2 separate regions of the Homo sapiens genome follow, and region 1 is linked to region 2. The links are contacts of gene promoters, found by promoter capture Hi-C in human tissues and cell types (Jung and others, 2019). All regions are on one chromosome and are shown on one strand. Each heading gives the region's core, a stretch centred on a gene start or on the middle of the fragment in contact. The rest is flanking DNA. Distances are from core to core; before and after follow the strand shown. Region 1 overlaps MRPL48 (mitochondrial ribosomal protein L48). Region 2 holds the start of COA4 (cytochrome c oxidase assembly factor 4 homolog).

Region 1 (4,798 bases), core at 319-2,818, 72 kb before region 2:
TATTTATTTTTTGAGACAGAGTCTTGCTCTGTTGCCCAGACTGGAGTGCAATGGTATGATCTCTGCTCACTGCAACCCCTGCCTCCCAGGTTCAAGCGATTCTCCTGCCTCAGCCTCCTCCCAAGTAGCTGGGACTACAGGCACGCACCACCACCCCTGGCTAATTTTTGTATTTTTGGGAGAGACGGGGTTTCACCATGTTGGCCAGGCTGGTCTTGAACTCCTGGCCTCAAGTGATCTGCCTGCCTCAGCCTCCTCAAGTATTGGGATTACAGGCGTGAGCCCCCACACCTGGCCTAGAGTGATTTTTTTTTTTATAATTAATGAGCCAATATTGGTATATTAGCTAGTGTCCATACTTTATTCAGATTTCCTTACTTTTTCTCTAGTGTCCTTTTTCTGTTGCAGATCCCATTCAGGATATTATATTTTATTTAATCGTCGTCTTTTCCGTAGGCTCCTCTTGACTGATAGTTTCTCAGATTTTCCTTGTTTTTGCATACTAGACTTTTCATACATCCATGTTGAAAGAATTAAAATTGTTATCCATAGTGGGCAGGATTTTCTCTTTATGTTATGGGACCTTAAGAACAGACTTTTTTTTTGTTTCTTTCCCGTAAAACAAACAAACAAACAAAAGAACAGACGTTTGTTTGGAAGACTGAAGCAAGGGAATTGCTTGAGTCCAGGAGATTGAGGCTGCAGTTGCTATCATTATATTTGTTTTTTTGTTCTTACCTCCATTGTGAAGTATCATTATCACTGTCATTTTTTAATTTTATTTTTATATTTTAATTTTTTTTTGAGACAGAGTCTTGCTCTGTTGCCCAGGCTAGACTGCAGTGGCGAGATCTCGGCTCACTGCAACCTCCGCCTCCTGGGTTCAAGGGATTCTCCTGCCTCAGCCTCCTGAGTAGCTGGGATTACATATGCCCGCCACCATGCCTGGTTAATTTTTGTATTTTTAGTAGAGACGTGGTTTCACAATCTTGGCCGGGCTGGTCTTGAACTCCTGACCTCGTGATCCACCTACCTTGGCCTCCCAAAGTGCTGGGATTATAGGCATGAGCCACCGTGCCCAGCCTATCACTGTTATTGAGAGAGACAGTGTACTATAATAGAGGCATAGCTTTTGTAGTAAGTCAGTCCTCTTTTTTTTTTGAGACGGAATCTCATTTTATGGCCCAGGCTGGAGTGCAGTGGCGCAATCTCTGCTCACTGCAACCTCCGCCTCCTGGGTTCAAGTGATTCTTCTGTCTCAGACTCCTGAGTAGCTGGGAGTACAGGCATGCACCACCATGCCCGGCTAATTTTTGTAATTTTAGTAGAGACAATACCATGTTGGTCAGGTTGGTCTTGAACTCCTGACCTCGTGATCTGCCCGCCTCAGCCTCCCAAAGTGCTGGGATTACAGGCATGAGCCACCGCACCTGGCCATTAAGTCAGTCCTCTTAGCAGCTTATTAGGTATAATTTTTTGGAATATAACCTCTCTGGGTCTCAGTTGCTTTACTTACGAAATTGTCTTGCAGTGTTTTCAGAATTAAAGAAGATTTAATAAAGCCCCTCTCATGATGCTGTGCATGGCAGATGCATACTAATTATTGATTGATATTAGAAAAAAATAGATTAAGTTGGAAATGGTAAACAGTGAAAAAGCAGTGTGGGAGGGGGACTTCTGTTTTTTGAGCATTTACTGTAGTGGGTGGAATGAGAATGATGACCTTGGTTTGTTTGCATGCTTGGTGTTAATTGTAGGGTAGCTTCTTTGTTAGATAAGAGCCTTTTTGTCCTTTTCTGGTTTGTGTACTGTGGGTTTCTTGCCTCTCTGAGAAGACATACTTGGAGGTCTATAAATGCTTAAGATTGTCCTAACATGGCTGTTTTGCTGTAGGTGCTGTGCCTGAGGAACAATACCATTTTTAAGCAAGCCTTTTCTCTCTTAAGGTAAGAATATTAAAAACAATAATTAAATATAGGTAACATTTGCCTTTGGCTTCATAGTTCACACAGCATTTTTTCATCATATTTACTTGCATGTCTATAAGCACATCATGCATCTCCCCTGCCACCTTGCTCCTTCCCCATTCTCAGTTAATAGCATCTCCATTCATCTAGTTGCTGAGGCCAAAATACTTGCAGTTAATCTTTGATGCTGTTCTTTTTTTTTTTTTTTCTTTTTGAGATGGAGTTTCACTCTGTCACCCAGGCTGGAGTGCAGTGGCGTGATCTTGGCTCACTGCAACCTCTACCTCCCAGGTTCAAATGATTCTCCCACCTCAGCCTCCCAAGTAGCTGGCATTACATGCACCTGCCACCATGCCCAGCTAATTTTTGTATTTTTGTAGAGATGGGGTTTCACCATGTTGGCCAGGCTGGTCTTGAACTCCAGACCTCAGGTGATCTGCCTGCCTCGGCCTCCCAAATTGCTGGAATTACAGGTGTGGGCCCCCGCGTCCAGCCAGATGCTGTTAATTCTTCAACAAAACTTGTTGGCTTTACTTTTGAAATATAAACAGAACCTTTTTTTTTTTTTTTTTAATTGAGGCAGAGTCTACCTCTGTTGCCCAGGCTGGAGTGCAGTGGCATGATCACAGCTCACTGTAGCCTTGACCTCCCATGCTCAAGTGGTTCTTCTACCTCAGCCTCCCAAGTAGCTGGGACTACAGGCATGTACTAGCATGCCCCATTCGTTTTTGTATTTTTTGTGGAGACAGGGTTTTGCCATGTTGCCCAGGCTGGTCTTGAACTCCTGGGCTCAAGTGATCTGCCCAAAGTGAGGGGATTACAGGCATGAGCCACTGTGCCAGACCTAGAACCATTTCTTTCTCCAGTTTTTGCCTCATGCTTTCTGTTATGCTAAACCACTAGGGGCCAGCTCCTTATTTTCTCATTGCCTTTACTACCATCACTTTGCCTCCCAACTGGTCTCCCTAGTTTACCTTTGTCTTCTGTTCTTCACAGTAAAGCAGAGTGATTTTTTTTTTTAAAGAGACCTAACATTATGAACATAAGAATGATTCTTTTAAAGCCAAGTTAGCTCACATCACTCCTTTGCTCCAAATTCTCCAGTGGTATCCCATCTTACTCAAACTAAAACCTGCAATCTTTACCATGGCCTATAGGACCTTCCATAATCTGTATCCTCATTTTATACTACTTACTCAGCATTAGCTGTGCTGTGGTTTGCTATTCCTTGATAATCTAAGCACCTTCCCACCCCAGGATCTGTGCATATTCTTTCCTCAGATATCCATATGGTTTGTCCTATACTTTTTTCAGGTTTCTGTCCAAATGTCATCCCATCCAAGAGGCCTTCCCTGACTACTCTATGTAAAATATACACCCCTCCATCAATCTCTGTTCCTTTATACTTTGCTTTTTCTTTATAGCAGATGTCACCATCTGACTCATTTTTTATATATAAAAATGTTTAACTGTCTTTCCTTGCCCCTTAAAAATAAGCATCATGGGGATACTGCCCTATTCCTAGGCCTACGATGGTATCTGACACATAGTAGGCATTTAATAAATATTTGTTAAATGAATGAATTGACCTTCATAGTGACCTGGTAAAACAGATGATATTATCTCAATTTTATATAAATAACTGGGGTCCAGAGAGTTTAATCTGTTGTTTTAATATGATGGAGCTAATTTGGGTTGGAATTAGGATTCAAATCCAAGTTGTCTTTTTTTTTTTAAACTGTTCTGTGTATAGATTGCTCTCCATTGTTTTTCTTTTTTCTTTATTTTTTTGAGACAGAATCTCTTTCACCCAGGCTGGAGTGCAGTGGCACTATCTCAGTTCACTGCAACCTCTACCATCCAGGTTCAAGCAATCCTCCTGCCTCAGCCTCCTGAGTAGCTGGGGTTACAGGCGCCCACCACCATGTCTGGCTAATTTTTCTATTTTTAGTAGAGATGGGGTTTCACCATGTTGACCTGGCTAGTTTCGAACTCCTGACCTCAAGTGATCCATGCTCCTCAGCCTCCCAAAGTGCTGGTATTACAGGCATGAGCCACCGTGCCCAGGCTCCCCATTGTTTTTCTCTAAGTGTGATGAAATACATTTGGTGGTTTATTTCTCTGTTCAGCAGCAAATATGCACCAAGTGTCTTTTGTGTGACAGCCACAGGATATAAAATAATGTATTGTACATCTTCCCGAACTACTCGGCACTCATGATCCTGGATGATTTCTTGAGTCCTTAACATTTATTGAGGGCTTTCTCCCTTTATTTCCCTTCCATCTTCTTTTTTTTTTTCTTAATCCCAAATGTGATAGTATCCCGTTCCATCTTAATCTATTATCCCATCTTAATCAGTCAACTACTATTTGATAAGCACCTCCTATGGCACCATACTAGCTATTTTTCGTTATCTCTAATCTTCACAAAAAACACTACAAGGCAAATATAAATATCATTTTGCAAAAGAGGAAACTGACTCAGAGTTTAAGATACATTTTCAGTCCCATTAGATTGTAGTATTATTATCTTTTTTTTTTTTTTTTTTTTTTTGAGATGGAGTTTCGCTCTTGTTGCCCAGGCTGGAGTGCAGTGGCACGATCTTGGCTTACTGCAACCTCCGCCTCCCAAGTTCAGGTGATTCTCCTGCCTCAGCCTCCCGATTAGCTGGGATTACAGGTGCCCACCACCAAACCCGGGTAATTTTTTGTATTTTTAGTAGAGACGGGGTTTCGCCATATTGGGCAGGCTAGTCTCGAACTCTTGACCTCAGGTCATCTGCCTGCCTCGGCCTCCCAAAGTGCTGGGATTACAGGCGTGAGCCGCTGCG
Region 2 (4,749 bases), core at 1,901-4,400:
TTTAATAGAGACAAGGTTTTTCCATGTTGCTCAGCATGGTCTCAAACTCCTGGGCTCAAGTGATCCTCCTGCCTTAGCCACCCAAAATGCTGGGATTACAGGTGTGAGCCAACTGTGCCCGGCTGATGTTCGTCTTGATTTACCTTTGTGCCCCCAGCACTAGGCCTGGCTGAGAGCAGGCCTGAAAAGTGGTTTGAACTGAATGAGATAAACTGTGAGAATGCTTGACATAACATTCAATAAGCTCAGTGGATTTTGCTATTGGAATATGAATTAGGTGAAATGTCATCTTTTTAGATAAGCTATCTCTGATCTACCTAAAAAGAACTAAACTTTCAGCTAGGTACGATGGCTCACACCTGTAATCCTAGCATTATGGGAGGCTGAGGCAGGAAGATCCCTTGAGCCCAGGAATTTGAGACCAGCAGGGGTAATAGCAAGACCTCATCTCTACAAAAAAATTTAAAAATGGCTGGATACGGTGGCTCATGCCTATAATCCCAGCACTTTGGGAGACTGAGGCAGTCGGATCACCTGAGGTCGGGAGATCAAGATCAGCCTGACCAACATGGAGAAACCCGTCTCTACTAAAAATACAAAATTAGCAAGGTGTGGTGGCATATGCCTGTAATGCCAGCTACTCAGGAGGCTGAAGCAGGAGAGCCGAGGTTGAACTCGGGAGGCGGAGGTTGCGGAGAGCCGAGATCACACCATTGCACTCCAGCCTGGGCAATAAGAGCAAAACTCCATCTCAAAAAAAAAGAAAAAAGAAAAAAAATGTAAAAATTAGCTGGGCATAGTGGCACACACTTGTAGTCCCAGGTACTCAAGAGGCTGAAGAGGGAGAATCCTTTGAGCCCAGGAGTTCAAAGGCTGCAGTGAGCTATGATGGTGCCACTGTACTCCAGCTTAGGTGACATAGTGAGACCCTGTTTCAAATAAATAACCTTTCTTCTTTTATCCTACTAGCCTTATTCTATGCTGAAGAACAAAGTTTAAAAAGTGAAAGAGGCTGGGTGCAGTGGCTCACACATGTAATCCCAGCAATTTGGGAGCCCGAGGCAGATGGATCATAAGGTCAGAAGTTCAAGACCAGCCTGGCCGGGATGATGAAACCCCGTCTCTACTAAAAATACAAAAATTAGGCGGGCGTGATGGCAGGCACCTGTAATCCCAGCTACTCGGGAGGCTCAGGCAGGAGAATCGCTTTAACCCAAGGGGCGGAGGTTGTAGTGAGCCAAAGATCGTGCCACTGCACTCCAGCCTGGGTGACAGAGTGAGACTCCATCTCCAAAACAAACAAACAAACAAAGTGAAAGAGTGCCCAAATATGGGTAGGTTTTGACACATGGGAAGGATGGAAAGAGTTCACTGTGGCTGTAGCATACAGTATGCAGAAACCTGGCCTCTGGGTCTATAAGGTGAGATGGCTTTGTAAACTATACAAAAATGTGAGGTGTATTTATTTGCCCAAACTGTCTTGCCCGTCTGCATCAGAACACTCAGCAGAAAGCAGCATACAGAAGGAACTTAAGGTTTGAAGAGAAATGACTTCAGCCTTTGCAAAAATTTCACCATGATGGGCTGTAAAGCAACTAGGACTCCTTATTGCCTTAACTGTGTCTCTCATTCACTCAACAAATGATTAAGTACCTATCATGTACCAGGCACTATGCTAGTGCTGAGGATTCAAGACTGTCTAAGTCAGTTAAGTTCCTGGCTTCATGGAGTTTACAACCTAGACAAGGAAACAGGGCAGTTTACTACACAGTGTACAGATAGCAAAGACTGGGACCACAGTGGAGGGATGCCTAATCCAGACAAGGGCAGGAATAGGCAGGGAAGGCTTCCTAGAGGAAGTGATTTCCAAGCTGAAACTTGACAGATGGAACAGAAGTTAGCCAGAGATGGGAAAACTATTTTTGGTCAATGGAAGAGCAGGTGGTTGAGATAGAATCTGACACATGAGAGCAAAAAAAAAAAAAAGTTCAGTGATGGGAGAATACAGTGTGAGAATAAGACAATATTAAACTGGCGATATAAGTAAGTGATCATCACAAGGCTTTGTAGGACATAGTAGGGAGTTTAAGACTTTTTATTCTGAGGGCAATGGGGAATCACAAGAGGGAGTTAGGCACTTTACACAACTCATTTGCCTTGGAGGCGGTATAACTTAAGCAAGAGGGAGAAAATGGGCTTTGAAACAGACTTGGACCTAGCTTTGTCACTGCCTCATTTGGTGCCCTTGGACACATCATTTAATAACCTCTCTGGAAGCACAGAGATGAAGCCGGGTGCCATGGCTCACGCCTGTAATCCCAACACTGGGAGGCTGAGGCGGGAGGATGGTTTGCGCCCAGCCTGGGCAACACTGTGAGCCGTGATCACGCCACTGCATTCCAGCCTGGGTTACAGCGGGAGACCCTGTCTCAAAAAAAAAAAAAAAGAAAAAAAAAAAGGTAAGGTTTGTAAGGAGGCTGGTATGTCTAAAGAGTTCAATAAATGATAGTTTTCTCTTCCTAAATACACTGTTAACTCTTTAAATAGGGCCAGGAGCAAATAATTTAGAGAAAGAACAGTGGAATAGAAAGTGCCTTGATCCTAAACCAAGAGATCCGTGTTCAAATCCCAGCACTACGCCTTACTATGTAATCTTTTTCATTTTAGTTTTCCCATTAATAATATTTAATTCGCACAATTAGAATGAAGATTAATATAACGAATGAAAAGCGCTTGGGCTACTATAGGACTCAGTAAATGCTGCTGTACTCTCCTCTCACCACCTTTTGGCTTCAGTCTCCTCTGGAGTAAAATGACGACGACCCCTGCTCAGAGATCAGGGTAGGCTAGATGGTTGGCAGCTGGATCGTGGAGGCTGGCCTAAACAAGGAAGTCATGGAAAGGATCTTAAAGCAGAAAAATGCTGGCAGCCACGAGGCCTGAGGCGCCTCAGGCGTATCGAGGACTTTGAACTTTGAGGACGCATGCGCGCGCGCGGCCGCTGATCGCAGCCCCGTTGTGCCCGCAACGCCTCCTGAAGAACGCGGTACGCGATGCTCACCGAACAGGTGGGAGAAGAGGGCCCGAACGCACGCTCCTACGCGGCGGCTTGGGTTTCGCAGGCGGTTGGGGATCCTCTGTACATCCTTTCAGGAACCAGCCCCTCGTGGGGAGCGTGCACACGGAAGGGGCGGGGAATGTGAAAAAGTCACGTTTTCATTGGTGGCCTCTTGGTGTTGAGCCCACCTCTGTCCTCGCCGCACGCTTCTCGGGGACTCACTTCCGGGAAGGGGCGGAAGAGGTGGGCTGGTGGAGGCGGGGTCGAGATGGCGGCGCCTTTGAGGATTCAGAGCGACTGGGCGCAAGCCCTCAGGTGAATCCAGGCCCAGAACAGAGTCAGAGGAGGCGGGTAGTGGATGTTGCTTTGCGTCAAGGAGAGCCATGCCTGGTCCAGGATATCAATAGGGGTTACTTCGTCAATTGTCGAGGGATATGGAGGGAACAGGGTCCGGAAAAAGAAGTATCAAACCCGTATGGTCATTCTCTGAAAAGCTATCCCTAGGCCAAGGGAGCACATGAGCTGTGTGATCCCCGCGTCAGAACTAGTATCAGTGAGTTGGAGAAAGACAGGGATACTGGGAGGCAGGAAGGCTTTTGGCCAAGCAGTCATTTAGCAAATATTGATTAGTCGTCAGTTACTTCCAGAAGTCTCTGTACTCACCACCACTTTGTGTATGTGATGGAACCTTTGTATTCTCCTAGGCCCCTAATGCTATATTAGGCATACTGGACGATACTATTAAGGAAACTAATACTGTGTCCAGGCCCCATACTGGATGCTTGGTGGAGCTCAGATGTATACTCTAAATATAAGTGATGGTTCCTGCTCTTCAAGAAGCTGACATCCAGGCCAGGCGCAGTGGCTCATGCCTGTAATCCCAGCACTTTGGAAAACTGAGATTGGTGGATCAGTTGAGGTCAGAAGTTCGAGACCAGCCTGACCAACATGGTGAAACTCCGTCTCTACTAAAAATACAGAAATTAGTCGGGCTTGGTGGTGGGCGCCTATAATCCCAGCTACTCGGGAGGCTGAGGCAGGAGAATCGGTTGAACCCAGGAGGTGGAGGTTGCAGTGAGCCGAGATTGCACCACTGCACTCCAGCCTGGGTGACAGAGCGATACTCATCTCAAAAAAGAAGAAAAGCTGACGTCTTAATTAGGAATACACAGCAAACTATTCATTCATCTAACATTTATTGATCTTATACTATTCCAGTTATTTCTCTAGGCTTCAGGATGAATATAGCAGTGCTATATTTGGCAACTGCTACTACTAATAAGGGTTTTTCAAATTGAAACAATGGTGAAGATGAATGAAACATAGCCTTCTGCATTTAAGAAATTTACACCTTACTAAATTTATACCTTACTTAATTTAGGTGGGCTAAAATACAGACTAGTTGCTAGTACACAGAATGTGATAAGTAATAAAGAACAATAACATGAAGTGCCACTAGCTACCTATGAGAAAATACAGCACCAGAATCAGAAGGCTTAATTTGCCCAAGATCATGCATCTCGTCAAATGATAGAGGGTTGCTGTCAACCTAGATCTTTCTGTCTTAAATGCATAGACCCTTTCCATTATACCCTAAAAGTGCTAGGGTGAAGAGATCAGGATTTGGATGATTGGGCAGGTGCTAAAATAATAAAAGGAATCTTGTTTGGTTATTGTGAGGGTTAATGATT

What was found. The method cuts DNA at HindIII sites, captures the fragments that hold promoters and counts their contacts. A contact is called where the count stands out against the background at its distance.
Region 1: a fragment that was not itself captured here is called in contact with the fragment with the promoter of COA4 in region 2 in 7 of the 25 tissues and cell types used here (adrenal gland, bladder, hippocampus and 4 more).

Annotation. Positions count from the first base shown.
Region 1 is chr11:73,803,134-73,807,931 of GRCh38, forward strand. MRPL48 (mitochondrial ribosomal protein L48) reads left to right here. Exons shown (of 8, transcript NM_016055.6): 2 at 1,894-1,946. Among named protein-coding and RNA genes, the nearest start is that of MRPL48, 18 kb to the left of the region's middle. The HindIII fragment of the contact is 3,695 bases long and covers 1-3,416 here.
Region 2 is chr11:73,873,696-73,878,444 of GRCh38, forward strand. It overlaps COA4 (cytochrome c oxidase assembly factor 4 homolog), which reads right to left and starts at 3,151. Exons shown (of 2, transcript NM_016565.3): 1 at 3,062-3,151. It overlaps PAAF1 (proteasomal ATPase associated factor 1), which reads left to right and starts at 3,304. Exons shown (of 12, transcript NM_025155.3): 1 at 3,304-3,373. The coding sequence starts at 3,327. RefSeq lists enhancers at 3,402-3,451, 3,472-3,541. The HindIII fragment of the contact is 11,350 bases long and covers 1-4,749 here.